2 separate regions of the Homo sapiens genome follow, and region 1 is linked to region 2. Evidence: promoter capture Hi-C in human tissues and cell types (Jung and others, 2019). All regions are on one chromosome and are shown on one strand. Each heading gives the region's core, a stretch centred on a gene start or on the middle of the fragment in contact. The rest is flanking DNA. Distances are from core to core; before and after follow the strand shown.

Region 1 (5,956 bases), core at 7-2,506, 330 kb before region 2:
AAAAAAAGTTGTGGACAGAGAATGAGATATTGGAATTGTATATTTTCAGATATAGAGTAATTCTGGGAAATGACAAAATCCAGAATGAGGCTAATAAATTTTCTTGCAGAAGTAGAGTGGAGAAGAGCACTAGAAATGGTCAAGGAGCTGTGAAGGTAGAGTGTTGCTTGGCCAGTTCATCCACAGGAGCATTGTGATGGGCTGGGAGGTAGAGAGCAGATGCTCAAGTCTCCATAGAATATCAGGAAATATTCAAGAAGGCAATAAATGACTACATCGAGAAGGAATAAAAGGTAATATTGCAAAAGGCATGAGCCTTAAAAGAGAGGCCTTTAATGTGAGGGTTGAAAGCAAAGGTCTAGAAGCAGTGATGAAGAGTAGGAATGATGATGACTTCTGGGAAACAAAAATTACAATGATTAATAACTCTCCAGTATCAGTGAGGTATAAGAAAACAGGCATTCATGTATGCTTGGTAAGAAGGTACATTAGAAAAAACTTTCTGGATAAAAATTTGGCAGTATTTATCAATTTTTTTAATGTTTGTGTCATTTGATTCAGCAGTTTCAAATCCACAAATCTATCCTACAAATATATTCACATGTACCCAAACATACATGTATTAGCATTTCACTGTGGCATTGTTTGTAAAACTGGAAACAACCTAAATATTCATCAGTAGGGATATTTGTTCAATCAGTTATGTGAGGCTTTCACTCAAGAACCATAGCAATACAGAGGGCACACCCTGGGAGAGAAGCCGGGTTTCAGTTAAAGCAAGCAAGTGGAGAGAGAATTCAGTGAGGAAATTTAGGGTACAGTAGAGTCTGTCTACAATGGTACCAGTTTTCCAGAAAACATAGTACAAATAATTGGCAAGAGAGGCAATAGTGGGTGGATGATGGAGGGTAAGGAAAAGTGTAGAAGAACAGAAGGAAGCCCAAAGGGGTTCAAGACAGAGTGAACAAAAAGGCAGATGATCAAAAAGGCTTGCAGTATTAATTGGTTTTCAGTTAACTGGACTCTTCAGTCTAAAATGCCCTTCCCGGCCCTTGAAAATCCAGGAAACTCCTACTCATTCTTTAAATCTCAGACCAAAAACTATCTTTTCTATGAAGCCTTCCCTGATGGCCTATGGTCGAATTATGAACAAGTGCAATCCTATTATAGGATTTATTACTTCTGATTAGGAGTATTTAATGTGAAGCTTATGGATAGGCATCAGGGAGCATGTCCAGGTTTAAAATTTATGCAAAATTCTGTGTACATTTGTGCATTTTTCTAGCGGGGAAAGTCCAAAGACTTTTTTTTTTCTTTGCAATTTCACGCTGGTAATTTTTCTTTTTTAAAAGGTAAGCCACTAATAATTTAAGAAAAATATTTAAACCAAAAGTTGCATATTAATATTATACACAAATTGAAACACAAGTGACTTTTAGCACAGTGTATACATGCTTACATAAACTCAAATAGTTACACATTTAAAATAATTTCCATTTAACATATGAAAGTTCTGAAATACATAAAAGCATTAATACTTTCTATAAATCTACAGTTAGAACATCAATTTGCTACAAGCATATAAAAATATCAAGTGCTTTCTTGGAGTTTCCAGTTTCGTCCCTAAAACACAATCTTGGTCATAACAATCTAATTGCATATAAAACTTTAAAAGCAGGCTTGGGCCAAGTGCGGTGGCTCACGCCTGTAATCCCAGCACTTTGGGAGGCAGAGGCGAGCAGATCACCTAAGGTCAGGAGTTCGAGACCAACCTGGCCGACATGGTAAAACCCCGTCTCTACTAAAAATACAAAAATTAGCCAGGCATGGTGGCGCCCACCTGTAATCTCAGCTACTCCAAAGGCCGAGGCAGGAGAATCGCTTAAAACCAGGAGGCAGAGGTTGCAGTGAGCCGAGATCACACCACTGCACTACCAGCCAGGGTGATAGATCGAGACTCCGTCTCAAAAAAAAAAAAAAAGGTTTGAATGAAGTTCTCAAACACTTTGATATATGTTCTTCAGGGACTTCAATTATAAGCAACAGAAATTATAAGTGACTTCAATCCCCATCTTGCTTTAAAATGGACAAGTCTTTGGTTAAAGTTCTATATTTGTGGCATTTATTTTCAATTAAGATGGTCCCCAAACCAATAAGTGGTACTGATATATTAATAGTTCACAAGACTTGATTTAATCTGCTTCTGATGTGTGGAAGGTTACAGATACTCATTTACTGTAATATGTCATTGATAGTTTTGATCTTTCACCCATAAGCAGAGAAATCAATAGATTTATTATTTCTGCCAGTTTTTTGTTATAATCTAAACTGTACAATGATTTTCAGTAACTACAGATACTGCTCCACAGTATATGTGATTATGATTGATAAGATGCAGAGCATTAAACTTAGAGTTAGCTTATTCTGATAAGTCAATATGAGACTGTACAGTAATTCTACATTAGCTATAGTAGGTTGTTAGATAATGCTTATTTTAAAAAACCCCAAACCATTCCATTTACAAAAGAAATTGTTGCAAATGTATAAAACAGTAGATATACAAGGAGAACACCAAACATACTTTATTAGCACAAAAAAGCAGCCATAACAAGGCACAGCAAGCAGAAACACGCATTAGCAGTCAAAGAGTTAGTGTGGCATACAAATAAAGCTTTTTTTTTTTGTAGCCTTGGCAATTGCCATAGGGATGTAAAATAATGTTCTGTAGCAGCAGGTAAGGAAACTATGGAGCACTCACCAGTGGTACAGAACACATTAACAAAAAGACACAAGAATGGATTCAGCCACTTTAGTGCAAAATGTCTAGGACAGAACTGTACATTCAGTTCAGTTACTAAGAAGCAAACACTAGAACTTGATGTAACTTCCAAAAGAGCTCACTCAAGTAGTATTACATTCACAGTAGTATTCAAGTAGTATTACACTCAAGTAGTATTCTAAGTGACAAAGAGGTGTTAAGTAGTTATTTACAGATATAATGGTTGTACAGTACCTTTCAAATCTGCAATTTATGTTTCAGATTTTCCATTGAGAGTAAATTACACTGAAATTCTGTAAATTATACTTAAGCAATTTAGCTATGAGTGTTTACAAAAAAGAGATAAATACTGCCATCCAAATTAGTAATTACAGTTTAACAATAATCTAACATCAGCAACCATTGTAGTTACTATTATCTGATTTGTTTGGGCATCTTCTAGTCGCATTTTCTTCATGATTCACAAAATCATTATGGGCACAGGAGAAGATCCAACTTTTATGAAACAACAATTAGACTGCACATCAACTTTTTTTTTTTTTTGACACCAAGTTTCGCTCTTGTTGCCCTGGCTGGAGTGCAATGGTGCAATCTCGGCTCACTGCAACCTCCGCCTCCCAGGTTCAAGTGATTCTCCTGTCTCAGCCACCCGAGTAGCTGGGATTACAGGCGCCCACCACCACGCACGGCTAATTTTTTGTATTTTTAGTAAAGACGAGGTTTCACCATGTTGGCCAGGCTGGTCTCAAACTCCTGACCTCAGGTGATCTGCCCGCTTTGGCCTCCCAAAGTTCTGGGATTACAGGCATGAGCCACCGCACCCGGTCACATCAACTTTTTAAAAAATCATATGCAAGACTATATTGCAGCAGCTGTTTTAAGTTAAAGTGCTCACTTAAAAACTAATACCTGGCTGGGTGCAGTGGCTCACGCCTGTAATCCCAGCACTTTAGGAGGCTGAGGCAGGCGGATCACGAGGTCAGGAGGTCAAGACTATCCTGGCTAACACGGTGAAACCACGTCTCTACTAAAAATACAAAAAATTAGCCAGGCATGGTGGCGAGCGCCTGTAGTCCCAGGTACTCGGGAGGCTGAGGCAGGAGAATCGCTTGAACCTGGGAGGCAGAGGTTGCAGTGAGCTGAGATCGTGCCACCGCACTCCAGTCTGGGCAACAGAGCAAGACTCCATCTAAAAAACAAACAAACAAACAAAAAAACAAAAAAATATAATACCTAGGGCCTTTAAATAAAATTCTGCTACTAATTTTATAAGTCCAAACTCTTAAGAATGACTATTTAGAAAACCTGGTTTACTTAACAGTATCTTTTGCAGAAGAGAAAGAGTCTGACTATAAACTACATCAACATTTAGGTGAAATGCACTATGCCCTTGTGGCCAGAAAATTACATTTTTTTTTCTAAAAGAAAAGCATTATTTTATTTGTATTGGACTTCTAAAGCTTGATTTATAGTAATTATAAACATCACTACTTTTGGAAGGTTATAGAAAAACTCTTAGAAAAAATAATTTCAAACATTAGTCACACTGTTGAAATACTCATCTGATATTAATAATTTGTTCTTCAGTAAGAAATAGAATTCTTCACAGCAAATGCCCCAGAGTTGCCTCACTCAATTACTACAGCCATTAAAAACCAAACTGTTCGCTAAATAGGCAAACTTGTTTTGTAGTCTTACTCAACACCTGTAGTTTGTTTTTGTTTTTGTTTTGACAGAGTCTCGCTCTGTCTCCCAGACTGGAGTGCAGTGGAGCAATCTTGGCTCACTGCAACCTCCGCCTCCCAGGTTCCAGCAATTCTCCCACTCAGCCTCCCCAGTAGCTGGGATTACAGGCGCCCGCCACCACACCCAGATAATTTTTTGTATTTTCAGTAGAGATGGGGTTTCACCACGTTGCCCAGGCTGGTCTCGAACTCCTAAGCTCAAGTGACCTGCCTGCCTCAGCCTCCCAAAGTGCTGGGATTACAGGTGTGAGCCACTGTGCCCGGCCTGAACACCTGTAGTTCTATCCTCTGTTGTTCCACTAGGCACCACGTTTATCTGGATAAGTAACAGAAGGTTGCATCTGACAGATACTAACACTAAGCTTACATACTGTATGAAAAAACCTAGCACCGTTATGTGTGCTTGCTATAGGTATACATCTGATGCACATGAAAGCAGATGAGATTCACACCCTTTGGGGACAGGAGAGTTTACTTTGCCTTGACTGGTTCTCGTTCTCACTAGTGAACCCTAAATTTTTGTTTATAAAGATACTCTTTTCAAAAATCTTGTAACATTGATGGTAAAGGGAGCCCATTAATTCCATCATATGTAGTACACCTGCAGATTACTGTACAACAGATATACTACAGCTAAAAGGGAAAGTCCTATCTAGTAATATAGTAAGCAACAGTTCAAAAAACATGCAATAACTGGGATCTTTATAATGTTCTTTTCTATTAAACTTTAAGTGCTGGGATACATGTGCAGAACACGCAGGTTTGTTACATAGGTATACATGTGCCATGGTGGTTTGCTGCACTCATCAACCCATCATCTACATTAGGTATTTCTCCTAATGCTATCCCTCCCTAGCTCCCCACCCCCCGACAGGCCCCAGTGTGTGATGTTCCCCTTACAGCCCCCACGCCGTGTCCATGTGTTCTCATTGTTCAACTCCCACTTATGAGTGAGAACATGCGGTGGTTGGTTTTCTGTTCCTGTGTTAAGTTTGCTGAGAATGATGGTTTCCAGCTTCATCCATGTCCCTGCAAAGGACATTAACTCATCCTTTTTTTATGGCTGCTATAATGTTCTTAAAGTCCTGTTACAGTGGAGGAGTGACATAAACAGGGGTCATGGGCATCAAAACCAAAGTTGTGATTACTGCTCAATTCAGGCCTGCAAGGATCTGTTGTAGCCCCAGAAGTTCATAGAGAAGAGGCAGTCCCTTTGCCCAGCATCCCTGAGCAAAAATGTGTCTTCACATTTCCCTTCTAGAAGGGCTTCTGATTCATAACGGTCCATCACTCTCCAATAACAAGGATTCCCTGTAGTCTGAAGCAGTATCTGTAATCAGCCTGTGTGTGGACTTCCCAAGCTCCCTGTCTGCTAACATGGGCATGTACCTCATGCTGCTTCTGCCCTCCATGGCTGCAAACACAGGGTGGC
Region 2 (6,039 bases), core at 2,591-5,090:
CGGGAGGACTGCTTGAGCTCAGGAGCCCACCCTGGGCTACATAATGAGACCCTGTCTCTACCAAAAAAAAAAAAGAATATTATGTTATCTTTTATATTTATAGGACCTGAAGTCTCCTTCCACATCCTACAAGCCTCTACCTCTCATTGAATCTGCTTTTTCTCAAGCACAAGCATCCAAGAGACAATATGTTGTACTAAATAACTTTTTTTGAGGCAGAGTCTCGCTCTGTTGCCCAGGCTGGAGTGTGGTGGTGCGATCTCAGTTCACTGCCAACCTCCATCTCTTGGGTTCAAGCGATTCTCTTGCCTCAGCCTCCCGAGTCGCTGGGATTACAGGCGCCCACCACCGCATCCGGCTAATTTTTGTATTTTCAGTAGAGACGAGGTTTCACCATGTTGGCTAGGCTGGTCTCAAACTCCTGACTTCAGGTGATCTGCCCGCCTGGACCTCCCAAAGTGCTGGGATTACAGGAGTGAGCCACCGTGCCCAGCCTATTTTTATTTTTTAAAAACTTTTTATTTTACTGTTTGGACCGAACAATGTGAATATATGAAACCATGTTTTGAATCAAGAATGGTATCTTTCGGCTGGGAGCAGGCTGGGAGATAAAAAAAAAAGAATTGTATCTTTAGGTTAGGTGTGGTGGCTCATACCTGTAATCCCAACACTTTGGGAGGCCAAGGCGGGAGGATTGCTTGGGCTCAGGAGTTCAAGACCACCCTGGGCTACAATAGTGAGACCCTGTCTCTACAAAAAAAAAAAAGTTATCTTTTATATTTATAGGACCTGAAGTCTCCTTCCACATCCTACAAGCCTCTACCTTTATTCAGTCTGCTTTTCCTCAAGCACAAGCATCCAAGAGACAATATCGTACTAAATAACTTTTTTTTTTTTTTTTTTGAGACAGAGTCTCGCTCTGTTGCCCAGGCTGGAGTACAGTAGCGCGATCTCGGCTCACTGCAACCTCCACCTCCCGGGTTCAAGCGATTCTCCAGCCTCAGCCTCCCAAGTAGCTGGGGCTACAGATGTGCGCCACCGTGTTGGCTAATTTTTTTGTATTTTTAGTAAAGATACGGTTTCACCATGTTGGCCAGCTTGGTCTCAAACTCCTGACCTCAGGTGATCTGTCCGCCTCGGCCTCCCAAAGTGCTGGGATTACAGCCGTGAGCCACTGTGCGCGCTGCTACGTAACTATCATAAACTACATTAAAAAGCATTCCAAGCTGGGCGCGGTGGCTCACGCCTGTAATCCCAGCACTTTGGGAGGCCAAGGCGGGTGGATCACCTGAGGTCAGGAGTTTGAGACCAGCCTGGTTAACACGGTGAAACCCCGTGTCTACTAAAAATACAAAAATTCGGGTGTGGTGGTATGCTCCTATAGTCCCAGCTACTCAAGAGGCTGAGACTGGAGAATCGCTTGAACCCGGGAGAAGGAGGTCGGCAGTGCACTCCACCCTGGGCAACAGAGTGAGACTTTCTCAAAAAAAAAATAAGAAAAAGAAAGAAAGATCATCCTTTCGCATTCTCCCAATATAACTGATTTAGGCAAGGGACATCAATGAATGCTAAAACCACATTGGGTGCAAGGTCAATGGGGAAAAGAATATTCACAATTTATTCTGCAGAAGGATGGGCTCAGTACCAAAAGACTGAAAAAAAAAAAAGAATATTCACACAATCTCTAAGTACCTGTGGATTACTTAGTAATTACACAGGGTTGTACCTTTGTGATGGAGCAATCTGGTGGTGACTACTTTATCAAGGTGATGAAATTTAGCATCACCAATACTAGGACAACACTGTATTTGACAGTGTACCTTCTGATGGCTGATAAAATATTTAACCTGGGCCGGGCGCGGAGGCTCACTCCTGTAATTTCCAGCACTTGAGGCGGGCGGATCACGAGGTCAGGAGTTTGAGATCAGTGTGGCCAATATGGTGAAACCCCGGCTCTACTAATCATACAAAAATTAGCCAGGGGTGGTGGCGCCGAGATCGCACCACAGCACTTTATCCTGGGAGACAGAGCAAGAGACTCCGTCTCAAAAAAAGAAAAAAAAAAAAAGGCCGGGCGTGTGGTGGCTCACGCCTGTAATCCCAGCATTTTGGGAGGCCGAGGTGGGCGGATCACGAGGTCAGGAAATCAAGACCATCCTGGCTAACACAGTGAAACCCCGTCTCCACCAAAAATACAAAAATTAGCCGGGCTTGGTGGCGGGCGCCTGTAGTCCCAGATACTTGGGAGGCTGAAGCAGGAGAATGGTGTGAACCCAGGAGGTGGAGCTTGCAATGAGCCGAGATAGCACCACTGCACTCCACCCTGGGCAACAGAGCGAGACTACGTCTCAAAAAAAAAAAGGAAACAAGAGAAATTCGGATCATGGAATGTTTTCAAGACAACTTGCCTGGATTCTTCCAAATATTTAGTGTCATGAAAAACAAACAAGAAGGCAGGTGATTCTGGACTAAAGGAAGATGACCAAATACAATGCATGAAACGTGAATGGATCCTAGTATTGGAAAAAAGGGAGAATGAGGAAGAGTGCTATGATGTGGTAAAGAAATTATTTCAGTCTATATTATCATAATATGTGAAAAAAGCAAGGTGAAAGCCGGGGTGTTGGCTCATGGCTGCAATCCCAGCACTTTGGGAGGCTGAAACGGGCAGATTGCTTGAGCCCAGGAGTCTGAGACCAGCCTGTGCAACATGACGAAACCCCGTAAAATGTTCCAACTAGGACAACTGGGGAAATTTAAGTGCGGACTCTTCCTTAAATAATATTGACTTACTTCCTAAAGTTGTGATAAAGGTACTTTGGTTCCATAGTTAAGATGCTTATTTTTAGGAGTGAAGAACAAGATGCCCATAAATGGTTTAGAAAAACAAAAATCCTAGCAAAATGTTAACCATTGTGAGTCTAGGTGAGGGGTCAGCTGTTCATTTTACTAAACTTTCACATTTTCCGAAATAAAACGTTGGGGGAACAAGTATTTTTTTTGAGGCGGGCTGGAGTGCAGTGGCCCGATCACAGGTCACTGCAGACTCCAACTCCTGGCTCCCACCTCAGACCCCCCAACAGCTGGGACTACAGGCACTGGCCACCACATCTGGCTAATTTTTTTGATTTTGTGTATGGATGGAGTCTCGCTTTCTTGTCCAGGCTGGCCTCATACTCGTGGGCTCAAGCGATCCTCCCACCTCGGCCTCTCAAAGTGCTGGAATTACAGGCGTAAGCCACCGCGTCCGGTCAAAAAATCAATTTCTAGGGAAAAATGTCAACTCAAAACAAGTAACCTGCATAGCTCGGGAATGCCTGTATAATTTACGTCAAGTCTCTCCTTGGGACGGACCGGTGAAATTGCACGCAGCACAAAGACCGGCTCTTACCCTTACTTCCGGGTATTGTGGTACAGGAACCCGAGGTTGCCTGCGCGTAAGCCACGTGACTCGAGCAGCTCCTTCTGATTGGAGGAAGAGCCACTGCTCTAATTCGGTGCCGTGAGAAAGCTCGCGCGCGGAGCAGTGGGAGCGGGCGGGACTGAATATTTTCTTTGACCAACCGCTTTCCACATATCCATCCTCCTGATCCCGTAGCGTCGAATCAAAAGCCGTTAGTAAAGTAGTTACTTCTTTCTCTTAGGATAGCCGGTCTTTCCGGGTTTTCCCCCCCTTCCCCCTCCCCTCTCCCCACTTCCCCCTCCCTTTCCCCTCTGTTTTGAGCTTCCGGTAGAGGCTGGTAGGGTAAGGGAGCTCAGTAAGTCACTTCTGGGCGACTGTTGTTTTATTTCCGGTCTATGGGACCCGGCTGCGATTTGCTGCTGCGGACAGCAGCTACCATCACTGCTGCCGCCATCATGTCAGACACGGACAGCGACGAAGATTCCGCTGGAGGCGGCCCATTTTCTTTAGCGGGTTTCCTTTTCGGCAACATCAATGGAGCCGGGCAGCTGGAGGGGGAAAGCGTCTTGGATGATGTGAGGGGGTGGGCGTGGGGGTAGGGCTCGGGGGGTGGGGCTAAGCAGAGGAAGGAGGTGCGGGGAGGAAAGGAGAGGGTGCTCAGGCAGCGAGAACAGGGCGCAGCTAACGCCGGGGAGGAGGATCCCGTCCTCATGGGTGCGGGAGCAACGTGGCGTGGGAGTGATCGTTCTGGGGGAGAGTGGGCAGAAGAGAGCGCGAGGCGAGCCCGGGGCCAGGGGCGCAGGGAATAGTGGCTTTGGAGCTAGCGCTCTGCCGACCAGACAGTAGGACACATGCTGGTTTCGCCTACTGAGATGGCTTCCCACCCGTAACCTGCTTGGAGATTCTTGACACTGCCTGCCCCTCTGACATCGCTGCCCTGAGATGGCTCTATAGAGCCAGAGGACTGGACAGGACCTGCCTCCCGCTCGTTTGGTTCCGGCCTCAGGCTTAGGACAATGGGGTGTTCCTAGCACCCGAGCGGGCCTCCTGGTCACAGTGCGCCTTTTAGGTGGCTCTCCCAGCGTCTTCACTGACTTTCGTGAAATAGTGTCCTGCGCCCTAGTGAAACTACCCTGCCTTCACTTAGGCCCGTTTTCTTGAGGAGTGAAGCTGTCGGCCGCTGTGGCCCCTCCTGTGCCGCAGGCGCATGCGAAACAGGGACCGAACGAGCCCCGCCTCGACGCCTCCAATCCCACTGATCCCCCTGCCTCGGCCCTCGTTCCGAGAACGACCGTTCCATTCATTCAGTCTTGGCAGTAGTTATTTGATTCGTCTTCTCTTGTAGTATACTTTAAAGTGTGGGCGATGCAGTTGGCTGTGGTGCTTTAATAAAGATCTGATCGATGCGGAGTTTGGTAGATGTATATTACAGTTCTCGAACGTGTTGCTTGTTTTGGCACACTGCACAGTCATTTTTCATGTGGATTTGTGACTTTGTCGTGGACCAGGGAAATAAGTCCTGTGGTGTGGGAGTCGTAGGTTTAGTTGTTATCTTCGACTCGTGCTGTCCCTTTTTCAGGAATGTAAGAAGCACTTGGCAGGCTTGGGGGCTTTGGGGCTGGGCAGCCTGATCACTGAACTCACGGCAAATGAAGAATTGACCGGGACTGACGGTGCCTTGGTAAATGATGAAGGTGAAGTCTGGGTTGTGGGGAGTAGGCGGGGGAGGAGGCTAGCCACCTACTATGTATGTACTTTTTTGTGTGTGTAAGACGGAGTTTCGCTCTGTCTCCGAGGTTGGAGTGCAGTGGGGCGATCTGGGCTGACTGCAGCCTCCGCCACCCGGGTTCAAGCATTTCTCCTGTCTCAGCCTCCTGAGTAGCTGGGACTACAGGCACGCACCACCACGCCCGGCTAATTTTTGTATTTTTAGTAGAGACAGGGTTTCATCATATTGGTCAGACTGGTCTTGAACTCCTGGCCTGAGGTGATCCGTCTGGCTTGGCCTTCCAAAGTGCTGGGATTACAGGCGTGAGCCACCGCATCCAGCCTGTACATGTACTTTTAAATGGGAATTATCTGAGGGAGTGAGGGTCGCTTACTGTTGTTGCGATTCTCCCTGCTTTTTTCATAGGGTGGGTTAGGAGTACAGAAGATGCTGTGGACTATTCAGACATCAATGAGGTGGCAGAAGATGAAAGCCGAAGATACCAGCAGACGATGGGGAGCTTGCAGCCCCTTTGCCACTCAGGTGATTCTTTGGTGTATTGGCTTGAACATTCCAGTGCATTATCCTGCTGTATAGTCCAGTTTGGGCTCTGGTTTCTATACCCGCTGTCTGCCATTGTTTCTGCTCTCTATGCCTTTGCTTTGGCTCCTCCACTCCCTTTGTCAGGTCAGTTCCAAGTAGCTGCTATCTTTTTTTGTGTTCTGGCCAGTCTTAACCGTATTCATGTGGTTATTCCTCACACTGTTCAGTCATGAATTCTTAGTTAATGACAAGTAGCTTTCTTGTCACCTGGTATTTGAATACCTACAGGGTTTGTGAGATACACTTCAAAGTTGGAAACTATGAAACAAATTCAGTTTTTGCCCTTAAGGAATGGATAGTTCAAGAAGGATACAACGTCATACAT

The links. The method cuts DNA at HindIII sites, captures the fragments that hold promoters and counts their contacts. A contact is called where the count stands out against the background at its distance.
Region 1: a contact is called between a fragment that was not itself captured here and the fragment with the promoter of TAF1 in region 2, in 1 of the 25 tissues and cell types used here (hippocampus).

The regions. Positions count from the first base shown.
Region 1 is chrX:71,038,216-71,044,171 of GRCh38, forward strand. It overlaps the pseudogene SOCS5P4. Among named protein-coding and RNA genes, the nearest start is that of SNX12, 27 kb to the right of the region's middle. The HindIII fragment of the contact is 4,398 bases long and covers 1-3,455 here.
Region 2 is chrX:71,362,517-71,368,555 of GRCh38, forward strand. It overlaps TAF1 (TATA-box binding protein associated factor 1), which reads left to right and starts at 3,841. Exons shown (of 38, transcript NM_004606.5): 1 at 3,841-3,978; 2 at 4,983-5,097; 3 at 5,538-5,654. The coding sequence starts at 3,859. RefSeq lists enhancers at 2,605-3,174, 3,343-3,392, 3,883-3,932, 4,451-5,146 and a silencer at 3,533-3,722. The HindIII fragment of the contact is 16,773 bases long and covers 1-6,039 here.